Linked DNA regions of Homo sapiens: regions 1, 2 and 3 are each linked to region 4. The links are contacts of gene promoters, found by promoter capture Hi-C in blood cells and fetal thymus (Javierre and others, 2016). All regions are on one chromosome and are shown on one strand. Each heading gives the region's core, a stretch centred on a gene start or on the middle of the fragment in contact. The rest is flanking DNA. Distances are from core to core; before and after follow the strand shown.

The links. The method cuts DNA at HindIII sites, captures the fragments that hold promoters and counts their contacts. A CHiCAGO score of 5 or more calls a contact.
Region 1: a fragment that was not itself captured here is called in contact with the fragment with the promoter of PDE9A in region 4 in 2 of 17 cell types (M2 macrophages and M1 macrophages); the score reaches 5.9 in M2 macrophages.
Region 2: a contact is called between a fragment that was not itself captured here and the fragment with the promoter of PDE9A in region 4, in 1 of 17 cell types (naive CD4 T cells). The highest score is 5.1, in naive CD4 T cells.
Region 3: a fragment that was not itself captured here is called in contact with the fragment with the promoter of PDE9A in region 4 in 11 of 17 cell types (endothelial precursors, non-activated CD4 T cells, M0 macrophages and 8 more); the score reaches 8.0 in endothelial precursors.

What each region holds. Positions count from the first base shown.
Region 1 is chr21:42,800,585-42,803,750 of GRCh38, reverse strand. No RefSeq gene overlaps it. Among named protein-coding and RNA genes, the nearest start is that of LINC01668, 22 kb to the right of the region's middle. RefSeq lists an enhancer at 2,289-2,870. The HindIII fragment of the contact is 9,598 bases long and covers 1-3,166 here.
Region 2 is chr21:42,841,288-42,844,764 of GRCh38, reverse strand. It overlaps a transcript of WDR4 not described here. Among named protein-coding and RNA genes, the nearest start is that of WDR4, 37 kb to the left of the region's middle. The HindIII fragment of the contact is 3,086 bases long and covers 449-3,477 here.
Region 3 is chr21:42,819,711-42,822,880 of GRCh38, reverse strand. No RefSeq gene overlaps it. Among named protein-coding and RNA genes, the nearest start is that of LINC01668, 41 kb to the right of the region's middle. The HindIII fragment of the contact is 1,993 bases long and covers 679-2,671 here.
Region 4 is chr21:42,651,607-42,654,870 of GRCh38, reverse strand. It overlaps PDE9A (phosphodiesterase 9A), which reads right to left and starts at 1,250. Exons shown (of 20, transcript NM_002606.3): 1 at 988-1,250. The coding sequence starts at 1,056. It overlaps LOC101928255 (a long non-coding RNA gene), which reads left to right and starts at 1,213. Exons shown (of 3, transcript XR_244322.4): 1 at 1,213-3,264. RefSeq lists an enhancer at 1,565-2,286. The HindIII fragment of the contact is 24,905 bases long and covers 1-3,264 here.

The sequences.
Region 1 (3,166 bases), core at 314-2,813, 150 kb before region 4:
TGTTATCACTCGCCTGTTACAGCAGCATGGGCTTTTAAAGCCTACAAATTCCCCTTAAAATTCACCCATTTTACCTGTCCTAAAACCAGACAAGGCTTACAGGTTAGTTCAGGATCTGTGCCTTGTCAACCAAATTGTTTTGCCTATCCACCCCGTGGTGCCAAACCGATATACTCTCCTATTCTCAATACCTCCCTCCACAACCCATTATTCTGTTCTGGATCTCAAACATGCTTTCTTTACTATTCCTTTGCACCCTTCATCCCAGCCTCTCTTCGCTTTCACTTGGACTGACCCTCACATCCATCAGGCTCAGCAAATTACCTGGGCTGTACTGCCGCAAGGCTTCACAGCCAGCCCCCATTACTTCAGTCAAGCCCAAATTTCTTCCTCATCTGTTACCTATCTCAGCGTAATTCTCATAAAAACACACGTGCTCTCCCTGCCGATCGTGTCCGACTGATCTCTCAAACCCCAACACCTTCTACAAAACAACAACTCCTTTCCTTCCTAGGCATGGTTGGATACTTTCGACTTTAGATACCTGGTTTTGCCATCCTAACAAAACCATTATATAAACTCACAAAAGGAAACCTAGCTGAGCCCATAGATCCTAAATCCTTTCCCCACTCCTCTTTCCATTCCTTGAAGACAGCTTTAGAGTTGGCCCCCACGCTAGCTCTCCCTGACTCATCCCAACCCTTTTCATTACCCACAGCCGAAGTGCAGGGCTGTGCAGCCAGAATTCTTACACGAGAACCGGAACTGCGCCCTGTAGCCTTTTTATCCAAACAACTTGACCTTACTGTCTTGCCTAGCCCTCAAATCTGCATGCGGCGGCCACCACCGCACTAATACTTTTAGAGGCCCTTAAAATCACAAACTATGCTCAACTCACTCTCTACAGTTCTCATAACTTCCAAAATCTGTTTTCCTCCTCACACCTGACACATATACTTTCTGCTTCCCGGCTCCTTCAGCTGTACTCACTCTTTGTTGAGTCTCCCACAATAACCATTGTTCCTGGCGTGGACTTCAATCTGGCCTCCCACATTATTCCTGATACCACACCTGACCCCCGTGACTGTATCTCTCTGATCCACCTGATATTCACCCCGTTTCCCCATATTTCCTTCTTTCCTGTTCCTCACCCTGATCACACTTGATTTATTGATGGCACTTCCACCAGGCCTAATTGCCACACACCAGCAAAGGCAGGCTATGCTATAGTACAAGCCACTAGCCCGCCTCTTAGAACCTCTCATTTCCTTTCCATCGTGGAAATCTATCCTCAAGGAAATAACTTCTCAGTGTTCCATCTGATATCCTACTATTCCTCAGGGATTATTCAGGCCCCCTCCTTTCCCTACACATCAAGCGTGAGGATTTGCCCCCGCCCAGGGCTGGCAAATTGGCTTTACTCAACATACCCCGAGTCAGGAAACTAAAATGCCTCTTGTTCTGGGTAGACACTTTCACTGGATAGGTAGAGGCCTTTCCCACAGGGTCTAAGAAGACCACCACGGTCATTTCTTCCCTTCTGTCAGACATAATTCCTCGGTTTGGCCTTCCCACCTCTATACAGTCCTATAACGGACCAGCCTTTATTAGTCAAATCAGCCAAGCAGTTTCTCAAGCTCTTATTCAGTGAACTAATGGTCTTTTAAAAACACACCTCACCAAGCTCAGCCACCAACTTAAAAAGGACTGGACAATACTTTTACCACTTGACCTCAGAATTCAGGCCTGTCCTCAGAATGCCACAAGGTACAGCCCATTTGAGCTCCTGTATAGACGCTCCTTTTTATTAGGCCCCAGTCTCATTCCAGACACCAGACCAAGTTGGACTGCGGCGCCCTCCCCCCCGCAAAAAAAACAAAACTTGTCATCCCTACTATCTTCTGTCTAATCATACTCCTATTCGCCGTTCTCAACTACTCATAAATGCCCTGCTCTTGTTTACACTGCTGGTTTACACTGTTTCTCCAAGCCATCACAGCTGATATCTACTGGTGCTATCCCTAAATCACCACTCTTAACTCCCTCTTAAAGTAAATAAATAATCTTTGCTGGCAGGGCTATGCTGAACCTCCTTGGGCACTCTCTAGTTAGATGTCCTGGGTCCTTCCAATTCTTAGTCCTTTAATACCTGTTTTTCTCCTTGTCTTATTCCGTTCTTTTTTCAAATCATACAAAACCATATCCAGGCCATCACCAATAATTCTATACGACAAATGTTTCTTCTAACAACCCCACAATATCACCCTTTACCACAAAATCTTCCTTCAGCTTAATCTCTCCCACTCTAGGTTCCCACACCACCCCTAATCCCGCTCAAAGCAGCCCTGAGAAACATCGCCCATTATCTCTCCATACCACCCCCCAAAAATTTTCGCCGCCCCAACACTTCAACACTATTATGTTTTATTTTTCTTATTAATATAAGAAGACAGGAATGTCAGGCCTCTGAGCCCAAGCTAAGCCATCATATCCCCTGTGACCTGCACGTATACATCCAGATGGCCTGAAGTAACTGAAGAATCACAAAAGAAGTGATATTTAAATAGCCGGTTCCTGCCTTAACTGATGACATTCCACCACAAAAGAAGTGAAAATGGCCAGTCCTTGTCTTAACTGATGACATTACCTTGTGAAATTCCTTCTCCTGGCTCATCCTGGCTCAGAAAGCTCCCCCACTGAGCACCTTGTGACCCCCCACTCCTGCCCGCCAGAGAACAACCCCCCTTTTTCCTTTACCTACCCAAATCTTATAGAACGGCCCCACCCCTATCTCCCTTCACTGACTCTCTTTTCGGACTCAGCCTGCCTGCACCCAGGTGAAATAAACAGCCTTGTTGCTCACACAAAGCCTGTTTGGTGGTCTCTTCACACGGACGCGTGTGAAAGATACAACCCCTGGCCTTCAGGTTTTCAAGGTACAATTGGTCAACTCACCGTATTTCGTAGTCTAAAGGAAACTCTAGGAAACCGCAAGGTGGTGTCAGCTTCCTTGACGATTCAGAGAGGTGGTTCCGAACGGGCGCAGTGGCTCATGCCTGTAATCCCAGCACTTTGGGAGGCCGAGGCAGGTGGATCTCTTGAGATCAGGAGTTTGAGAACAGCCTAGCCAACATGACAAAAACCCCGTTCTCTACTAAAAATAAAA
Region 2 (3,477 bases), core at 742-3,241, 190 kb before region 4:
TCTGTCCAGCTCCCAGGGCGTCTGCCTCCCTCCTGCCCCAGGGAGAGCTTCTGGGTGAGTCTCGCTGGCACTCCTGCCCCGGGCTTCCTGCTCTCAGGCCTTGGCCTGCTGCACCTTGGCCAACTGCACCACCCGGCACATCATAGCCCCACTCAGGTCAGAGCTGCGTCTCAGCCGACGTGGGGTTCCGAGGTTCTCACCAAGATCCAGACTCAACGCTTGTGGGTTTGTTGTCTCAGTCCTGGCGGTGGAGGTTCTCCCGAGGCCTCAGCGCCTCCGTTCTCGGAAGTCTCTTTACATGTTAGTGGAACCCTCTGTTCCTGTTGAATCATTCTTCGTGTTAAATGTTTCTATCTCTTGACTGATACATGATAGTCATCATGTATGTATTCTGCGGCTGCTTTTGTTTTTTTCTCTTTATCCCTGGTTTTCTGTAATTTGATAAGCTTTAGGGTATGTGTGTGTGTTTTGGGGGTTTGTCAAGATTTGTAGGCTTTGTCATTTTTATGCAATTTGGAAATATTCTAGCTATTCGGTCTCTTCCCCTGCCTCCTGCAGTCCCAGGTACTCGAATGGGCTGCTTGCTGTGGACTCATGGGTCCGTGAGTCTGCTCATCTTCTTCAGTTTGCGTTTCATTTTTGGTAGATTCTGTTTCCACGTCTTCAAGCCCACTGATCTTTTAAGCTGCTGTTAAGCTATGGCCATTTTCTGTATGAGCCATTGTGTTTTTTCATCTCTATAAATTTGGTTTTGGTATTTAAAAAAATGTCTTCCAGCTAGGCTGGCGGCTCACACCTGTGATCCCAACACTTTGGGAAGTTGAGGCAGGGGGATTGCTTGAGCCCAGGAGTTTGAGACTAGCCTGGGCAATACAGTGAGACCTCATCTTTAAAAATAATTAAAAAGGTCAGGTGCGGTGGCTCACGCCTGTAATCCCAGCATTTTGGGAGGACAGTGGATCACAAGGTTAGGAGTTTGAGACCAGCTTGGCCAATATGGTGAAACCCTGTCTCTACTAAAAATATAAAAAATTAGCTGGGCACATGCCTGTTGTCCCAGTTATTTGAGAGGCTAAAGCAGGAGAATCGCTTGAACCTGGGAGGCGGAGGTTGCAGTGAGCCGAGATCGCGCCACTGTACTCCAGCCTGGGCGACAGAGCAAGAATCTGTCTTAAAAAAAAAAAAAATTAGCCAGGTGTGGTGGCACATGCCTGTAGTCCCAGCTGCTCGGGAGGCTGAGGCGGGAGGATCACTTGAGCCTGGGAGTTTGAGGCTGCAGCAAGCCGTGATTGCACTACTGCATTCCAGCCTGGGTGACAGAGTGACGGTCTCAAAAAAAAAAAAAAAAAAAAAAAAAAGCACACCAGTGTCTTCCATTTCTCTTTTAATCATAATCATGCTTTAAAAAATACCCTCGAGCATATGGAGCAAATTTAAGATAATTGTTCCTTTTCTGCTAATTCATTATTACTGTCATATCTAGGTCTGTTTCTGTCGACTGTGGACCACTTATGTGCGATCCGTGGACCACTTGCGTGCGATCTGTCGGCCGACGATGAGCTTGTTCGGATGTAGCTCCATCGTAAGTCGAGGAGCATCTGTGATTTGTCCTCTGCTTATGGGATATGTTTTTCCGCTACTGAGTCTGTGTAGTAAATTTTTGACTAGGAACATGGTGAGATTTACATTATTAAGTGTGAAGTTTTGTTAAGGTTCCTTTAAAGAATATTACGCTTTCTGGCCGGCTGTTAAGCCCCATGTAGATTAATTTGGTCTTTTTCAGGTTTGTTTTAAGCTCACTAGAGTGAGGCTGAAGTAGCCTTTCCTTGGATGATTTAGTCCTTCCCAGGTGTGACCCTCCTGCTGTCCCTGCAGAATCCTGGGTATTCAGAAGTGTCTGCACACTGGCTGGAGGGACGAGGGTGATTTCTGTGCAAGGCGGGAATTGTTTGTCTTACCCTCCGGAGGATTGTTTTTTCCTCAAAAGCTACTCTTTGGCGTCCTGGGGTTTTACAGAATGTGTAGGTTGGTGTTCATCCGAAGACCCCAACGGGACGCTGGTGTGTATTTCCTTTCATCTGTGCAGCTCCCCTCCCCTTTGCGGGTATTCTGTCCCCAGTTCTAGCTGCCTTGGCCTTACCTATACCAGGGAGGCCAAGTGGCCCGCTCGCCCCACTCCCCTTCCAGACAGGGTGCAGACAGGGCCCTCCCATCTCCTGGACGGCGGCGGCCCCTGTGCAGAACTTCATGGGCACCTGGCTGTCTGGGGGCCTCTTCCCCAGGGAGTCTCCTGGTGGTGGCCGTGTTGCCTCAGGCTCACTGTGCACTAGGCAGGTCACGTCAATGCCACCTGAGGGGCAGGGGTTACCACCCTGTGGTTCAGGTGAGAAGCCCGAGGCCCAGGTGAGGAGTGTCTGGCAGTCCGTGCAGTGTCTGGACAGTATGCCAGCCCCTGCCCGGAGGCCCAGCTTCTCCAGCCCAGCCCACACCCACCAGGAAATGCCCCGATTTTACTCCCCTGGGGCAAAGGCCCTTGGCTGGCTGAGCATCCCCTCTCCCAGCACTCGGAGGCACCTGCAGTTGCTCAGCTGTTCATTGAGTGCTGGGAGTGGAAACTCATACGCTGAGCGGCAGTGACGCTGCGGAGCTGACAAACCCCACAGCCCGCCCGGTCACCTGCTTCACCGAGGGCCACAGCCCCCCCGGGGTCAGGTGGCCACAGGGGTCCTGGCCATGTGGGACATCTGTTCTGTGGCCCTGCTCAGGATGGCACCTGGCGGGGACTGGCCCTGGGGTCGAGGCATGGGCTCAGCCACTGCCCTGCAGGGACACAGCCAGGACCTCTTCCCGGCAGAGGGACTCCCCCACTAATCCCCAGAATACTGAGGGGCACGCTGGGTGCCAGGCTGGCAGGGACCCTGGGGATTCTGCAGCGAGCTGAATGGGGTGGGAGTTCCTTCTTAAAATGTGGAGTCTGGAGGCCACTCTTGGCGAAGCGCTGGTGCCCGGGGATTCTGCAGTGAGCTGGGCATGGATTCGTGAAGCTGCTCATGGTGAAGCGCTGGGGTGATGGTGGATGGGCCACAGCGCCACTGTCACAAGGAAGGTGGGTGACAGCGAGTGTTCCCTGTTCCCTTACCAGCGAGTGCCTCCCTGGGAACTTGCCCCCAGGCTGTGCTCTTGGGCCATCTCCTTCATCCTCACCTTCACAGCCACCCCTCCTTCTCCCAACTGAGGCACCTGCAGAGGAGAGGGGCCCCAGACGGGGACAGCAGGGCAGAATCCCAGCTCCCAGATCCGGGAGAGGGGGGATTGGGTGTGGCGGCAGTTTCGGGGGTAGGGGGCCAGGTGGGTGTGGGACCCAGGGGCGTGGTTTCAATCCTCCCCCCAGGACCTTGGGAATGGCCTCCAGGAGCCTGGCATGGGGAGGCCAGGGTCACCAGCTGAACCATCTGGACCAGAATTGCACAGCAGCGC
Region 3 (3,170 bases), core at 426-2,925, 170 kb before region 4:
TTTCTTGTAGGACAAGTCTGGTGAGGAGTGTTCTATAACCTTCTTGTACTTGAATATTGATCTCTTTCTCTAGGTTTGGAAAGTTCTTTGTTGTTATCTTTTTGAATAAACTTCTACCCCTGTTTCTTTGTCTACCTCCTCTTAGATTCACCCCTTTGAGGCTATTTTCTAGTTTTTATAGGCATGCTTCATTATTGAATAATGCCCCTAGGCATTTAATAATGTGTTAAACATTACGTGTTAAATATGGTACATTCATTTTATGGGTTATTATACAGCATTTAAAAGAATGTGAAATCCCTCAGCTTTTGTTTGTCTGGGAAAGTCTTTATTTAAGGATATTTTCTCACCAGATGTACTATTCTAGGGTAAAAGTTTTTTTTTTTTTTTTCTTCTTCAGCCCTTTAAATACATCATGCCACTCTCTCCTGGCCTGTAAGGTTTCCACTGAGAAGTCTGCTGCCAGTCATATTGTAGCTCTATTGTAAGTTATTTGTTTCTTTTCTCTTGCTACTTCTAGGATCCTTTCTTTGTCCTATGGGAGTTTGATTATTAAATGCCTTGAGGTGCTCGTCTTTGGGTTAAATCTGCTTGGTGTTCTGTAACTTTCTTGTACTTGAATATTAATGTCTTTGTCTAGGTTTAGAAAGTTCTCATTATTATCTCTTTGAATAAGCTTCTACCCCTATCTCTTTTTCTACCTCCTCTTTAAGGCAATAACTCTTAGATTTGCCCCTTAGAGGCTATTTTTTAGGTCTTGTCAGCATGTTTCATTATTTTTATTCTTTTTTCATCTCCCCTGACTGTGTGTTTTCAAATAGCCTATCTTCAAGCTCACTGATGTTTTCTTCTGTTTGATCAATTCTGCTATTAAGAGACTCTAATATGTTCTTCATTATGTCAATTGCATGTATCAATTTCAGAATTTCTGCTTGACTCTCTTGAATTATTTCAATCTATTTGTTAAATTTATCTGATAGAATTCTGAATTCTGTCTCTGTGTTATCTTGAATTTCTGTGAATTTCCTCAAAATAGCTCTTTTGAATTCTCTGTCTGAAAGATCTCGTATCTCTGTTTCTCCAGGATTGGTCCCTGCTGCCTTATTTAGTTCATTTGATGAGGTCATGTTGTCCTGAATGGTTGTGATGCTTGTGGATGTTCATTGATGTCTGGGCATTGAAGAGTTAGGTATTTATTTTAGTCTTTACAGTCTGGGTTTATTTGTACCCATCCTTCTTGGGGAGGCTTTCTAGGTATTTGAAGGGACTTAGGTGTTTTGATCTAAGCTGTATCTGCACTGGGCGGGGTGGGGGGCACCTGAAGCCCTGTAACAGTGTGGTTGTTGCAGACTCATAGAGGTATTGCCTTCGTGGTCTTGGATAAGATCCAGAAGAATTCTCTGGCTTACCAGGCAGAGATTTTGTTCTCTTCCTTTACTTTCTCCCAAACAAATGGAGTCTGTCTGTCTGTGCTGAGCTGCCTGGAGCTGAGGGTAGGGTGACACAAGCACCCTCGTGGCTACCACCACTGGGACTGTGCTGGGTCAGACCTGTAACCAGCACAACACTGAATCTCACCCAAGGCCTGCCGTAATTACTACCTTGCTACTGCCTATGTTTACTCAAGGCCATAGGGCTCTACAATCAGCAGGTGGTGAAGCCGGCCAGGCTTATATTCTTCCTTTCAGGGCAGTGAGTTCCCCCAGGCCCCAAGTGGGTCCAGGGATGCCATCTGGAAGCCAGAAACTGGACTCAAAAAACCTTAGAAATCTAGCTGGTGTTCTATTCTATTACAGTTAAGTGGGCACTCAAACCACAAGACAAATTTCTTCCCACTCTTTCCTCCCACTTCCGTAAGCAGAGGAGCCTCTCCCATGGCTACTACCGTTACAAGCCCATGGAGAGTATTACCTGATTACCATCAGTGTTCACTTAGAGCCCAGGGGCTCTTCAGTCAGCTTGTGGTAAATGCTGCCAGGCCTGGGACCCTCCCTTCAGGGCAATGGGCACCCCCTTGCCCAAGGCAGGTCCAGAATTGCCTTGCTCAGGGAACCCAAAAGACAAGGCCTTGTGTCAGGGACCCCAAGAGCCCACTTGGTGCTCTACCCCATTGTGGCCGAGATAGAAACTGAAACCAGCACATCTCAGTCTCACTCAAGGCCCGTGGTGTACTACCTGGTATCGTTACTAGTTATTCAGGGTCCAAGGGCCCTTTTGTCAGTAGGTGATGAATCCTGCCAAGACTGAGTCCTTCCCTTCAAGGCAGTAGGTTTCTGTCTGGCCCAGGTGTGTCTGGAAGTATCATCCAGGATCTAGGGCTTGGAATAGGGGCCTCACAACTCTGCCCAGTGCCCTGTCCTACTGTGGCCGAGCTGGTATGCAAGACGCAAGACAAAGTCCTCTTTATTTTTCCCTCTTGTCTCCTCAAGCAGAAGGAAGGAGTTGCTTTCATTGCCGTGAGCTGTGCTGCCTGGGGTTGGAGGAGGGATGGTGCAAGCACTCCCTTAGCCACCCAAGCTGGTGTCTAACTAGGTCACATGTCCCCCAAGTCCACTGGATCTGAGCTTAGCACAGCACTAGGTCTTGCCAAGGGGTTGCAGTCCTTGTGGCCTAGACTGCCTTTAAAGTTTATTTAGGCCCCCAGAGAACTTTAGCCTGTGGTGGCAAAGCTTGCCCAAACTGAAGTTCCAGTCACTGGGATGGGCAATTTCTCTCTGGCTAGGGCTAGTCTAAGTGCTCCCTCCATGGGTGGGCGCTGGCTGAGTTCAGCCCAGTTTTGCTTTCTGTTGTGACAAAGCAGCAGCACTGAGTTCAATGCAAAGTCCCACAATCACTGCACCTTCCCTCCCACAAGCACACAGATGATTGCTCTGTGCCATGCGACAGCTGCCAGCGGGCAGCAGAGGGATGGTGTCAGCAATTAAAGAGTGCCTTTCCTACCCTCTGTGGTGCCTCTTTCAGTAATACGAAGTTAAAACTGTGATTGCTCACCTCATTTTTTTATTATTATTATTATTATTTTTTTTTCTTGAGATGGAGTCCCACACTATCACCCAGGCCAGAGTGCTGTGGCTTGATCTTGGCTCTCTGTAACCTCTACTTTCTGGGTTCAAATGATTCTCCTGCCTCAGCCTCCCAAATAGCTGGGATTACAGGCGCCTGCCACCACG
Region 4 (3,264 bases), core at 1-2,500:
AAGCGGGCTACGGTGGGAGAGGGCTGTACTTTCCATTTCACGGGGATCAAGCCGGGCACAGGGTGAGGGAGGCTTGTTGGCTTAAATCTACTGATTAAACTGGCCAAATGCACCTCTGGGAACAGGAAAGACTCAAGCCTGGCCGGCACCTGCTCTGTGCCTGGCTGGGGCATCTCTCCCTGGCCTCCTTCAGTGGAGTACTCCGTGGGCAGAAAGGTGAGAAGCAGCTGCAAGGGCTTCCTGAAACGCCCAGCTGAGGTTTGAGGGATTTCCTCACAATGGCTTTTCCCTGGGGACTTTAGGGGGAGCTCATGAGAGCCCCTTCCAAGCCGGCGCGCTCATTGTCCCTCCCTGCCCGTCAGAGGGGGCCACGAACAAAGGGGGTCTATTCTGAACCCCTCTCCCGTGTAACTCAAGTCCGCTAGGAACGCTGGACATTCGAGGGACTTCCTATCTCCGCACAGCAGGGGAGAGCCGGACCCGCTGCCCCCCAGGCTCTCCGCGGGGCCCCGGAGGTGCAGCGGCCCGAGTCCCCCTCTGCAGTCGGAGCTACTCACCTGCGGGGGAGCAGTGTCCCCGCCGGCGCCCCCCGCACCTGCCCCCGCGCGACAGGAAGCGGCGGCTGCTCGCCCCCTCCGCGGACCACGACCCCGGGGCTGCCCGGCGGGCCGATCCACCGGAAATTAAAGGCTTCATGTGCCAGCCCTTGAATGTAAAAACTCAGCCTAATCAGATTTTCAAAAAGAAAAGCTCTGCCTGTGAAACGGAAACACTAGCCCGCCCCCCCACCCCCCACCCCCCAGGGCGAGTCGCCCCTTTCCCCGGGGAGCCGGCGCGTGGGGACCCCCGCCCCCGACCAGAGCTGGCGGAGCGCACGGAGGCCGCAGCCTGGACCGGCAGACGCACGGACAGTCCCGCCCCGCCGCGCCCGGCCCCGGCGCTGTCACCCGGGGGGAGGAGGGGGTGTCTGGGTGGGGGAGGGGCTACCTTCTGAATGCGTCCATCGATGTCCAGGTAGATGGCCTTGGGCCGGTAGCTGGAGGAGCCGGATCCCATCCTGCGCCCGGCGGCTGCACTCGGACTTTTTACTGTACTTTCCCGACGCCAGCCGCCGCGGGAGGCGGGGGAGGGGAGCAGGGGAGGGGGCGGGCGGGGGGCGGCCCGCGGCGCTCAGCCAACCACAGCCGCGCCGCCACCGGGCCCGGGACGCCCGGGAGCCGCCGCCGCGCGCCGCAGGGTCTCCTCCGCTCGGCTCGCGCTCGGGCTCGGGCTCCGACTCCGGCTCGCGCGCTCCTCCTCCCGGCCGCCCGCCCGCCCCTCCCCCTCCCCCCTCCCCCCTCCCTCCCCCGTCTCTCCTCTCTCCCCTCCTCTTCACTCCCTGCACCTCCCTTCCCCCTCTTTCTTCTTCCCTTGACTCCAGCCCCCGGTCGGCTGCCTATCTCCCGATGCCCCCTGGACAGCTGTGCAGAGCCCTGAGCGACCCCTTCGGCCCGGAGCCGTCGCCTCCCCACGCAGCCCGTCCCTCCTAAGCCAGCGCTGGGCTGAGCGTGGCCGCGCCGCTGTGGACCCCCCAGCCCCGCCGGGAAAACTCCCCTCGCTCCTCTCTCCCTGCTGCGACCGCCACCCTCATTTCATTTGAATAGAAAACGGGAAAAGTTCCTTCTCGGTCACCCACAGCCTTCCCCTAACTAGGGGGCGTCAGCCTCCTCCAGCTGCGCCCGGAGCTGAAATGGCGATTTTATTTCTGTCCTGTATGGGGCCGGACCGAGGATTACCCCGCCACAAGCTATCTGCTGGATTCAGCAGTTTCGTCCCCTCCCCGCTTGTGTGAATTGCTACAGGGAGTGTGGGAAAGGCGGGAGGGGAAGGGGGCTGTGGGCATCCTCTGGATCTGCGGAGCAGGGAAGGGCTGCCTTGGCCGCCCCCAGTTCTCCTGGGCTCCTCCATTGGGAATGGGGTTGGCGGCTGGGGGAGGAGGCTCAGATGCCGTGGTCCTGGCCCTGGGTGCAGGTCGCCTTTGGAAGCAAGTGTCAAAGCCAGCCGGAGCATGTGCTATTGTTTCGTTGGAAGTGAGTTCCAAGCCACCGCTTTCCATCTGTTAAGTGTCTGGGTGCTGCTTATTGAGAGAGTCTGGTGCACCCAGGCTCCTCCCTCCCCTTCGGGCCTGCTGGAGCCGGCCAGCCAGTGCCAGGGCCAGTGGTCACTTCCTCTCCCTCCCCTGGCCAGCCTGGTCTCCACCTGGTGGACGGTCACAGGCTTTACAGACACCCCCAGGGCCATCTGGAGCTCTGGTGGCAGCTGGGGTCCTGGGGAAGGTGAGAGCTCCTTGCCTGTCCGTGGGGGTGGCATCATCCTGTGAGGTAAGTGATCGTCCTCAGCCTTTGGCCAGTCCATCCTGTGTCACTTTATGTCCCCCCACCTGCTCTCATGGCGGGGGGCACGCTCTCAAATAACAACGGCTTGGAACTCGGTACCTTGGCACCCCCTGCCCACAGCTCCAGTGGAGTCCGTGTCAGAGCTTTGGCACCATGAGTTGTGCTTTTCAAGTGACAGGATGAGAAGGGGACAGCCTGGAGGCCTTTGGGGTGGGGAGACCCAGCTGGGTGGTTACAGCGGGCCAGCTGACTCGCCATGGGGATACTGTGTCCCCGGCTCATTGAAGTGAGCACTATTACTAGTAGTTCAATTTGTTGTCAAATGTTCCGATGCTATTTGGGCTAATCCAGAGATCGTGCTGTTGGGACCGCCTGTGCTGCCTGGCATGGAGTTCTTACCAGCAGATGGCTCATTGGCTTGGCACTTAGTTATTCTCCATCCCTTATTGTCATCTGGCCTAGTCTTCTGTAACCATTTCCTCCAAGAGCCCCAGAAGGACGAGTGCCCGCCCATGGGGGGTGGTTCTGCAGGGCAGTTCCCCAGGAGGGTGGAGGGTGTGGCTCTGAGACTCTGTGTGCGTCCAGCACCAGTGCAGGCTGGCCCCTCACACTGCCTGGCTGATTCTGTGCTCAGGAGAATAATCGCATCTATAATTACTTTGCACTTTTAGGAGCTGGACTGGACCCCTGTGTAGATACTGGATCGATGAGGCCTCAGCAGCTGCCTAGAGAGGAACCCTTTCCTCTCCCAGATCCCCATGGAGCAGTGCGGTCTTCCATTCGTCAACAATCTCATTACTGCGTGTTGGGTGCTGTTCTGGGCACTGGGAATTCAGTAGTGAACAGAATAAGCAGAGATCCCTGGCCTGAAGAAGCTGGCATTCTCTGG